Regions from separate parts of the Homo sapiens genome. Here regions 1 and 2 are each linked to region 3. Evidence: promoter capture Hi-C in 16 types of primary human blood cells and fetal thymus (Javierre and others, 2016). All regions are on one chromosome and are shown on one strand. The core of a region is centred on a gene start or on the middle of the fragment in contact, and the rest is flanking DNA. Distances in the headings are between cores, read along the strand shown. Region 1 holds the start of NDUFA2 (NADH:ubiquinone oxidoreductase subunit A2). Region 2 holds the start of APBB3 (amyloid beta precursor protein binding family B member 3). Region 3 holds the start of LARS1 (leucyl-tRNA synthetase 1).

Region 1 (3,333 bases), core at 19-2,518, 5.5 Mb before region 3:
AATACACTAAAGTTACTCGTGTCTATCTCCTCCTGTAGTCTACTGGCTTTTGGAAGGAGAAGCTTTTTTCCTTCTCCAATTATTAGTGCATGTCTAATGTCTACTGTGTCTCACAGATATCTACTCTGAGAACCAATCTGCTTAAGGTGGTCACTCTCCTCCACCTCCTCCCGTCATTCCCAGGGCACCATATAGTTAAAAGCTGTGATTAAAATCCTGTTATTCAGTATGTATAAACATTTATTGCATACCTACAATGTGTTAGGCAACATGATAGGAAAATTTCATTTTGCAATACATTGCCATGCCAGTCTTAGAGGGGTAAGTGCATTCTAGGAAGGGGAATAAATGTAAAGGCTCAATCCTGTTAAACTCTAGCTGCATCTAAAGTTGCAGCTAGAGTTTAACAATAGTGCAAAACAAAGTTTTGATTCCGTTTTCTAATCTCTACAGTGAGAAAAGAAGAACACGCTTCCTCCTAACTAATGAAGATTAAATGAGTTAGGCAGGGAAGCACTCAGCACAGGGCCCAGCTCTATGTGCAAAATTACTGAGATTCTCACACACTACCTGGACTGACACTGGCTACACGTTATTTGGAGAAACTATATTGACTAACTTCTCTCCTGTCTGAAGCCCATTCTTAACTACAAAAACGTCAGCTCCTGGTCCCTACGCAGGATTCGGTCAGCCTGCATACTTATGTTGCCCGGAATACAACGCATCATATAACCCTGCGAATATAAATTTCTTCATGGAAACAAGATCAACAGCAAGGCTAAAGTCCGAGTTCTAGTTTCTCCACGGGTTTCTGCACGACCTTGGGCGGTCCCTTCTCTTCTCAAACCCTTGTTCCCCTACCGGAGCCCCAGACCCCTGGCGTCCCGCACTCACCGTAGCGGGCCCAGAGCTTGGGCTGCACATCGGAGCATTCGCGGATTAGGATGGGTAGGTCGGGATTCGCCTTCTTCAGCTCCACGTAGCGTTTCTCAATGAAGTCCCTGCGGGGCCGGAGAGAGCGCCGCGCGTGCTGTGGGCGGGGGCTTCCCTCAACTTCAGGGAGGTCGAGGTCGTGACCCTGGCGTCCCGAAGCCCGCCCGCCTCACCACGCCGCGCCTCACCTGACGCCCTGGCTGCCGGGCGAGCGCTGACATAAGTGGATGCGAATCTCACGCAGGCCCAGCTTTGCCCCGACTCCTCGACTTGCTGCGGCCGCCGCCATCCTTGTTAATATCGAAGTCGCCAATTCCAGGTCTTCAGGCCAAGTGCTCCGGTCTGACCAACCGCGGACCCTAAAGCCTAGCCCATAGGCTGCATGAGGCAGGGGCGGGGTAAAGCTTGGCCAATGATATAAAAGTATTGTAGGACCGCTGCGAGGTCAATTTCTTTGCGCTCGGGGTTGGTCGGAGGGAAAAACAGGAAGCGGAAAGGCTGCGAACGCAAAGCAGTGTGGGTTGATTCTGAGGTGCACTGTGGGAAAGAGCTTGTCGCTGCGGTGTTGCTGTTGGAGACTCGATTGTTGGTGACAGCGAAAGAACGATAACAAAATGCCGGAGCGAGATAGTAAGGCTCAGGCCATCCGTTATTTCTTCCCCATGGCACTTGGGGCACTTGGCGCATTATTGTAGCTTCTGAGCTTAAGCCGGGTGTGTGTGTGTGTGTGTGTGTGTGTGTGTGTGTGTGTATGTATGTATGTGTGACGCTTGAGCCCGGAGAAGCCACAGGGTCCTAAGTGAGGCCGACAGCTCCAAACTCCGTCCCCAGTCCTCACTCCTACTCCAAGTGATGATGGGCGGCTTTTGTGCGTGGATCGCTTTCCCCCAGTCCTGTCCCCATACTTAATCCTGGGTTGCGCGTATTTATCTTTTACGTAGTATTTTAGACGTGATCTTCCGGAAGTCTTCTCTGATCCTCCAGCGCAGGATTAGGGTCCTCTGCTTTGTGCTCCCACAGCTTCTTGTAGTTTCCTATTTCAGCACTTATTACATTGTGTTGACACTGTCGCTGTTCTAACTTTTGTTCTGTATTGTTCACTACTATATCTCAAATTTTTGCATAGGATCTGACACGTAAGAGACTGATTAAATTAACGTCAATTTTTTTTGTCAGGTGAGCCGTTCTCCAACCCTTTGGCCCCCGATGGCCACGATGTGGATGATCCTCACTCCTTCCACCAGTGAGTATTTTGTGCTAGGACCATGGAAATGAGTTGGGCAATGAATAGAAAAGTGGTGGTGATGGTGAAAGAATTCTGAATGTCTTGTCATCAAGGATGGTAAAAAATTATACCCGCTGGCCCTTTATCTCTGTGAGCCTTAACTGGATCAGGCCAAGTGCATAAGGGTATTAGAAGGGAAATTCCTGCAGGAAAGGTGTTAAGTTTTTTTTTTTTTTTATACGTGTTGTGTAATTACACATTATATAGGAATTACTTCTTCCAATAGCAAATTAAAACATAGGAAATAAGGGTAAAATCATCTTTTTATTTTTTTTGAGACTGAGTTTCGCTCTTGTTGCTCAGGCTGGAATGCAGTGGTGCGATCTCGGCTCACCACAACCTCCGCCTCCCGGGTTCAAGCAATTCTCCTGCCTCAGCCTTCCGAGTAGCTGGGATTACAGGCATGTTCCACTACGCCCGGCTAATTTTGTATTTTTAGTAGAGATGGGGTTTCTCCATGTTGATCAGGCTGGTCTTGAAATCCCGACTTCAGGTGATCCACCCGCCTCTGCCTCCCAAAGTGGTGGGAGTACAGGCGTGAGCCACCGTGCCTGGCCCCCGATAAAATCATCTTTGATAACATCCCCAATTCCAGTCCATTTCTTTTTTTTTTTCTTTTCTTTTCTTTTCTTTCTTTTTTTTTTTTTTTGAGACGGAGTCTCACTGTTACCCAGGCTGGAGTGCAGTGATGCAATCTTGGCTCACTGCAACCTCTGCCTCCTGAGTTCAAGCGGTTCTCCTGCCTCAGCCTCCCAAGTAGCTGGGACTACAGGCATGTGCCACCATGCACGACTGATTTTTTTTTTTGTATTTTTAGTAGAGACAGGGTTTCACTGTGTTCGTCAGGCTGGTCTTGAACTCCTGGCCTGAAGTGATCCACCCGCCTCAGCCTCCTAAAGTGCTGGCATTACAGGCGTGAGCCACCGTGCCCAGCCTCAGTCCTTTTCTTAGAAGTAACCACAGTTACCTTTTTTGGCATATCTTTTCCTCCCGTTGCCCAGGCTGGAGTTCAATGGCATTATTTCTGCTCACAGCAACCTTTGCCTCCTGGGCTCAAGCAATTCTTCTGCCTCAGTTTCCCCAGTAGCTGGGATTACAGGCATGCCCCACCATGC
Region 2 (3,252 bases), core at 113-2,612, 5.6 Mb before region 3:
CTCCATCTCAAAAAATAAAAAATAAAAGTCACAAAATAGAACAGGGTCCAATATGTGGACCAGAACCCCAAAGTGGGACAAGAGACCCTAGAACAGAGGACTTAATGGCCAAGGTCTAGAACATGATAGGTTAGGACCAAGAATATGAAAAACATGTAGCTACAAACAAGAGCTTAGAACAAGGGATAAAACTCAAAATACTGACAGTTAAGAACCTGGGACAGAGCCAAGAACGTAACAGAACCCAAAACATGTGACAGAATCCAGAACCTGGGCTGGAAAGCAGACCATGGGTCCAGCTGCATTTTTGAACACCATGGAACCCCAAGCCTTTCATTTTGCCTGGGCCACCCGTTACCTCCGGTCCAGTGAACTCTCCAGGCTGGAGAAGGATCTCCCTTTGGGGGGCCGCAGTCCCCAGATCCCCTCCGTTCCCTGTAGAGTGGGAGTTAGTCAGTTTAACAGCAGACCTAGGTCCACACATGGGCTCAGACCTCCTCCTCACACTCTACCTACCGTGCCTGGGTCCTCTGCATCTCCTAGTTCCCAGGTTGGGCGCTGCCACTGGGTGCTACCGCTGGGTACATGCCAGTAGTAAGTACCTGCAGCATCGTGGATCTTCCTCCAGCCAGGAGGCAGGCCAGCCTCCACCTCCAGACTGTGGTCCCCCCACAAGTCATCTACAGGAACACCGGATTAGAGAGGAGGGAGCATATGATTTGTGAGTTCAGAATAACATGCTGTCATAATCCCCTCTCCATCCCCAAAATGGGTCAGTTCTTAGGCTGAAGATCCAGGCTCCTCAATCTTGAAGACATCACATGTAAAGACCGGGTTCATTCGCCCCCTGGTCCCTACACAGAGAGGTATCCCCCACCGTCTTTGAGCCCCAGAGTAGCCTTTCGGATTCCCTCGTCCTCCCTCAGCTCCTGGTCTTCCCACCGGGCCCCTCCGTGCACACCATCGCAGTTGACCAGAATGATGGCCAGCATGTAATCCTTGCCCAGCATAACCCCGGCTGCTCCCCGCCAGCCTCTGCCGGCCCGCACTCTCAGCCCAGCGCGACCTCTGGAGCTACTGCGCCTGCAAGCCCAGCCTCTCTGCGCCGCAGGCTGCGGGGCCAGCTGGCGCCGCACAAATACGGGGCGGGACACGGGGCGGGACACGGGCCGGTCCCGGGGGAGGGCCTGAGCCGCACAGCCCGCCCAGGGGTGGTGCGTGTAAACGGGCGTCTGGATCCCCGAATGGTTGCGTGTTTCCGTGTGTGGGTCCGGGGGAGGCCCACGAACGCCAGCGAAACCGCTGACACCACCGCCCAACTATGAACTCATCAGGCGCCTGAAGACCGACACGCCGAACATGCGCCGCGCGCACTCGCGCACGAGTGAGATCATCGCGCCCCGGTCGTGAGTGCGCTCACACGCAGCCTGAGACTCGACGGGAGGGGGTCACGTGGAAGTATCTGAGAGAGGCGTACTTGGCCACTAGGAAAGCACCTCCCCCTTTCCAAAAATGCTCCGGAAGTGCCTTCGCCCTCCGTAAAGATGGCCGGGGCAGTCGGCACGAGGGAGGCGGGGATGCGCCTGCGCAACAAGTTCGGCGGGGAAGATGGCGGATGACAAGGTGAGTGGCCGTGGGGGTGATCTGCAGCCGGGCGTGGTCTTCACTCTCCTTGACCTTTTTAGTTCCGGGGAGAAGCGACTCTGGAGCGGCTCAGGAGTGAGGATGTCCCTTGTTTCTTCTGCGGCTCCTGTCAACTGCCTCAACAGTGTGGAGTGGTGTGGGGAGAGCATTCGGCGAGGCGGGAGGAGCCGTGGATCCCCCAGATGTCCCCTCCTGGGAACCATCACGAACCCGTTACTAGCACAGACTCAAAAACATTCACCCTTAAACACTCCTCACTTTACCCCATTCCCTAGCTCCCGAAATTTTCTTCCCAGTGACACGATGTTTCCAATCACACGGACACTCACACCACCCTCATTCAAACACTCCTTTGCATACATTCTGAATTTCATACTTATATGCGATCAAAATCACTCAGTCCATTTACTTACACACTTGCCGACAGTCTTTTTTGTCATTCTCAGTCACATCCAGTCACTCACATTCAGTTTGGGATGTCCTTGGGAAGAAAGAGGTAAAGCCCATCCAGGAACCAAGACAATAAAATTGTCCAGGAAACTGCCTCGGTCCATTACTCACCATTGGTCTAGAAGCTCAGCATTACCCACACATTTACTAAATGTCAGGCACTAGAACATAGTAGCCAAGACAGACTGGTCACGACTTTCAAGGAGCTCATAATGGAGTCAGTAGTGGTTTCCTGATGGACCTAATTAAAGGTCCCTAGCTGTCCCTCCTGCCTTTCCTACATACTGCTTGCTATATAAAATTCTTGTCAAGGTTGATGTAAGTTACTGGTTCAGATCCCATCTGTCAGTCCCTTCCTGGCCCTCATTTGAATTCTGTGCTTTTCAATGCTTGTCTTTCTTTGCCACTGCCATCTCAGGAAGCTTTTATAGGAAAAGGTCTTTCTGGCTCACCCCATCCCCTCCCAATTCCCAGCTTCTGATGGAATTGAGCAAGGGGTGGGGCTTAGTCAGACTGCTGGAGCCAGCCTCTCGCTTGTCCTAGGATTCTCTGCCTAAGCTTAAGGACCTGGCATTTCTCAAGAACCAGCTGGAAAGCCTGCAGCGGCGTGTAGAAGACGAAGTCAACAGTGGAGTGGGCCAGGTAAGGACTGTCCCACCCCACCCCTGCCTTAGGCTTTATTGCCCAACATGCTCTTGAGAGTGTTAAATGGATGGTAGAGATTTCTTCAGCAAGTGATTATTGAGGGCCTATTCTCAGTCACCCTAAGGACAATTTTTCTGAATGGCACATGAACTAATATCTTAAGTAGTGGTTAAGTAGGTGAAGAGGGGAGGAAAGAACATTCCAGGCAGAACAGCATATGTAAAGGCCTTGTGGTAGGAAGTAGCATTATAAACATGAGGGGTGAAAGGAGGTCCATTTGGCTACAGTAGTTGGGGAGCATGCTAGGAAATGAGGCTGGAGAAACCGGCAGGGCTAGGGGCATCTCTGACCTTGTGTGGCGGTGGAGTTCTATGGTTGGAGCTTTCTGACCCCAGGGTTCTGAGATTGTGTGATCAGAACTGCTTGGTTCTTTTTCTGGCCCCAGAACCTTGGGAAAAATCTGGAGAAAATACCACGGTTGTCCAGGGTGAGGAGGAGCTGGTGGTGGAATGC
Region 3 (3,532 bases), core at 949-3,448:
TGAACTTGGGAGGCACCACTGCACTCCAGCCTGGGAAAGAATGAGACTCCATTTCAAAAAAAAAATAAAAATAAAAATAAAAAATATGATCATGTCACCCATTGTAAAGAAGACTATGAAAGCAAGTCTTTTACAAATTACTTAGAACTATGTGTTTCTTTTCATTGTACTGAGTATGCCAAATGCAAGAAAGCTTTTATTTGAGTTTTCTGTTTCTCAGAAAAACTTGTTTCTCAAAACCTCAAAGATCAAGTATAATAAAATCTGATATTGGCCCAAACACCAACTTGTTGTATAACCTTGAGCAAGTCATTTGATCAATCTGAGACTCAACCTCCTCACTGGTAACAAAAGGCTATATAACTAAATCAGAGTTCCTAAACTTTGGCACTACTTACACTTTGGGCCAAATAATTCTTTGTTTTCAGGGGTTGTCCTGTGCACTGCAGGATGTTTAGAAGCATCCCTGGCTTCTACCCGGGATCCCTGCTTTTCACTTACACTGTTGCCCCTGCCTGGAAATCTCTTTCTTCCTATAGTTGCATAGGTTGCTCTCTTACCTCGTTTTTGCCACCTTTTTGGCAAAGCCTTGCTTGATCATCCTTTTAAAAATTGCAACAGGCCAGGCGCCATGGCTCACGCCTGTAATCCCAGCACTTTGGGAGGCCGAGGCGGGCAGATCACGAGGTCAGGAAATTGAGTCCATCCTGGCCAATGTGGTGAAACCCTGTCTCTACTAAAATACAAAAAATTTAACTGGGCATGGTGGCGCGCGCCTGTAGTCCCAGCTACTCGGGAAGTTGAGGCAGGGGAACCGCTTGAACCTGGGAGGAGGAGGTTGCAGTGAGCCGAGATCGCGCCGCTGCACTCCAGCCTGGCGACAGGGCAAGGCTCCGTCTCAAGAAAAAAACAAACAAACAAACAAAAAACAAAAAAAAATAAAACCAGGCGGGATGGCTCATGCCTGTAGTCCCAGCACTTTCGGAGGCTGAGACAGAAGGATCGCTTGACCCCAGGAGTTCGAAACCCTGTCTCTACTAAAAATACAAAAAATTAGCAGGGTGTAATGGAGCACGCTTGCAGTACCAGCTGTGGGGAGGCTGAGGTGTGAGGATCGCTTGAGCCCTAAGGTCCAGGCTGCAGTGAGCCATGATCACGCCACTGCATTCCAGTCTGGGTCACAGAGTGAGAACATCTCCCAAATTTAAAAAAATTTTTAAAAATTGCAACTGTACTACCCCACCGTACACTCCCTAGCACCCCTTCCTGCTCTATTTTTTCCCCACAGCATTTATCAGCACCTGACACAATATTTTACAATGTATTTTACCCACACACATAAACACTATGAAAAGAGAGATTTTTGTCTGTTTTACGGAGAGGCGCTCAATTTTTTCTTTTTTTTTTTTTTTTTTTTTTTTTTTTTTTGCTGTAAGTAGGAATCAACTTACATACTCCTCTCTCCACCTCGGCTTTATTTGTTTGTTTATTTATTTATTTTATTTTTAAGACGGAGTCTCACTCTGTCGCCCAGGCTGGAGTGCAGTGGCGCGATCCTGGCTCACAGCAGCCTCCCTCTCCCGGGTTCAAGCAATTCTCCTGCCTCAGCCTCCCGAGTAGCTGGGTTAACAGGCGCGCACCACTACGCCCGGCTAATTTATGTATTTTTGGTAGAAACGGGGTCTCACCATGTTGGCCAGGGTGGTCTCGAACTCCTGACCTCAAATGATCCACCCGCCTCGGCCTCCCAAAGTGCTGGGATTACAGCCGTGGGCCACCGTGCCCGGCTCTCCACCTCGATTTTAGAAACTCCAGAGAAATAACAAATATGATATCCAAGTACTCCGTAAAGTTAACAGACATCAGTTCGTGGTTCATAAACTAGCAAGAAAAAGCAAAGTCTCTACGAAAGGCACGCCTTAAGCGTGGCTCTCTTTTAGAAAAGGACTTTCCCTTCAGGACAGCACATGGAGAGCCCCTAGAGACTGGCCAGTCCGGCTCCAGGGCCCCTGCGGATTCTTCTCGCTCAAACTCACCGCCATTGCACCGCCCAGCCGACTGTGCAAATCCACGACAATGACCCTGGCGACCTCCACAAAGGAGTGGTTACCTTTCCCCTCCCTCTCGGGGATGCCAGGCCTCCCACGAAACTAAAGCACACGCTTCACACCTGCTGAGGCAATCATCCGGCTCCTTACTAACTACAGCCAAGGCATCTCACAGCCCGCCGGGAATTGTAGTTCCCAGACCACCCGAGCAGACACCCAGCAGGCGCTAACTGACTACAATTCCCAGAGAAAAACGGGTTATCGGAAGTCTACCCGATAGGCCCACTCAGAGGGGAACCGGCAGTGACGTCACTGGCATGTTGAACTACAAAGTCCATGATGCAGTGCGGGATCGCAGAATGCCGCGAGTGCGCCCTGGTTAGGTTGGAGTCCCTTGGCCATCAACCTTTTCACCCGGTAGAGCTGGTTGCCTGTCGGGATGCCAGGATACGCAGTTAATTACTATACGGTGACTGAGGTGCTACTTATGGCTTGCCACTATGCACAGATATTTTTTACTGTCAGTGGCATTCAACAGCCCAGCATTTAGACATTGTATAACCGCGTATTGACAATCTCCTTTTTTTTTTTTGAGACGCAGTATCGCTCTGTCGCCCAGGCTGGAGTGCAGTGGCGCGATCTTGGCTCAGTGCAACCTCGGCCTGCCGGATTCAAGCAATTCTCCTGCCTCAGGCTCCCGAGGAGCTGGGACTATGGGCGCGCGCCACCACACCGACTAATTTTTTGTATTTTTGGTAGAGACTGGGTTTCACCTTGTTAGCCAGGATGATCCCGATTTCCTGACCTCGTGATCTGCCTCCCTCGGCCTCCCAAAGTGCTAGGATTACAGGCGTGAGCTACCGTACCTAGCCAACAATCTCCTTTTTTTTTTTTTTTTTTTTTTTTTTTTTTGAGAGGGAGTTTCGTTCTGTCTCCAGGCTGGAGTGCAGTGGCGCGGTTTCGGCTCACTGCAACCTCCGCCTCCCGGGTTCAAGCGATTCTTCTGCCCCAGCCTCCTTAGTAGCTGGGACTACAGGCGCGCGCCACCGCGCCCAGCTAATTTTTGTATTTTCAGTAGAAACGGGGTTTCACCATATTGGCCAGGATGGTCTCGATCTCCTGAACTCGTGATCCGCCCGCCCCAGCCTCCCAAAGTGATGGGATTACAGGCGTGAGCCACCGTGCCCGGCCAACAATCTCCATTTTTAAGCAAGAGACTGAAAGCCTACCTGGTCCCATTGCCTGACTCAGACTATTTAGACCACTACCAAACAGGGCCAGGGGCGGTGGCCATAATCCCATTATTTTGGGATGCCGAGGTGGGCGGATGACCTGAGGTCAGGAGTTTGAGACCAGCCTGGCCAACATGGTGAAACCCCGTCTCTACTAAAAATACGAAAATTAGCTGGGTATGGTGGCGTGCACCTGTAGTCCCGGCTACTCGGGAGGCTGAGGCAGGAAAATTGCTTGAACCCAGGAGGCAG

What was found. The method cuts DNA at HindIII sites, captures the fragments that hold promoters and counts their contacts. A CHiCAGO score of 5 or more calls a contact.
Region 1: a contact is called between the fragment with the promoter of NDUFA2 here and the fragment with the promoter of LARS1 in region 3, in 1 of 17 cell types (naive CD8 T cells). The highest score is 6.5, in naive CD8 T cells.
Region 2: the fragment with the promoter of APBB3 here is called in contact with the fragment with the promoter of LARS1 in region 3 in 1 of 17 cell types (naive CD8 T cells); the score reaches 10.1 in naive CD8 T cells.

The regions. Positions count from the first base shown.
Region 1 is chr5:140,646,362-140,649,694 of GRCh38, forward strand. It overlaps NDUFA2 (NADH:ubiquinone oxidoreductase subunit A2), which reads right to left and starts at 1,269. Exons shown (of 3, transcript NM_002488.5): 1 at 1,122-1,269; 2 at 895-1,001. The coding sequence starts at 1,222. IK (IK cytokine) reads left to right here and starts at 1,468. Exons shown (of 20, transcript NM_006083.4): 1 at 1,468-1,563; 2 at 2,110-2,176. The coding sequence starts at 1,548. It overlaps MIR3655 (microRNA 3655), which reads left to right and starts at 1,483; the gene lies at 1,483-1,565. It also overlaps a transcript of TMCO6 not described here. RefSeq lists enhancers at 847-1,266, 1,007-1,542. The HindIII fragment of the contact is 1,275 bases long and covers 61-1,335 here.
Region 2 is chr5:140,563,236-140,566,487 of GRCh38, forward strand. It overlaps APBB3 (amyloid beta precursor protein binding family B member 3), which reads right to left and starts at 1,363. Exons shown (of 13, transcript NM_133173.3): 1 at 962-1,363; 2 at 517-680; 3 at 359-435. The coding sequence starts at 1,010. It overlaps SLC35A4 (solute carrier family 35 member A4), which reads left to right and starts at 1,593. Exons shown (of 3, transcript NM_080670.4): 1 at 1,593-1,623; 2 at 2,638-2,736. It overlaps LOC131768270 (SLC35A4 upstream open reading frame protein), which reads left to right and starts at 1,593. Exons shown (of 3, transcript NM_001394034.2): 1 at 1,593-1,623; 2 at 2,638-2,736. The coding sequence starts at 1,609. MIR6831 (microRNA 6831) reads right to left here and starts at 516; the gene lies at 436-516. RefSeq lists enhancers at 521-580, 1,189-1,795, 1,551-1,670 and a silencer at 1,051-1,230. The HindIII fragment of the contact is 4,216 bases long and covers 1-2,514 here.
Region 3 is chr5:146,180,452-146,183,983 of GRCh38, forward strand. LARS1 (leucyl-tRNA synthetase 1) reads right to left here and starts at 2,199. Exons shown (of 32, transcript NM_020117.11): 1 at 2,037-2,199. The coding sequence starts at 2,042. RefSeq lists enhancers at 1,723-1,882, 2,791-3,532. The HindIII fragment of the contact is 6,101 bases long and covers 192-3,532 here.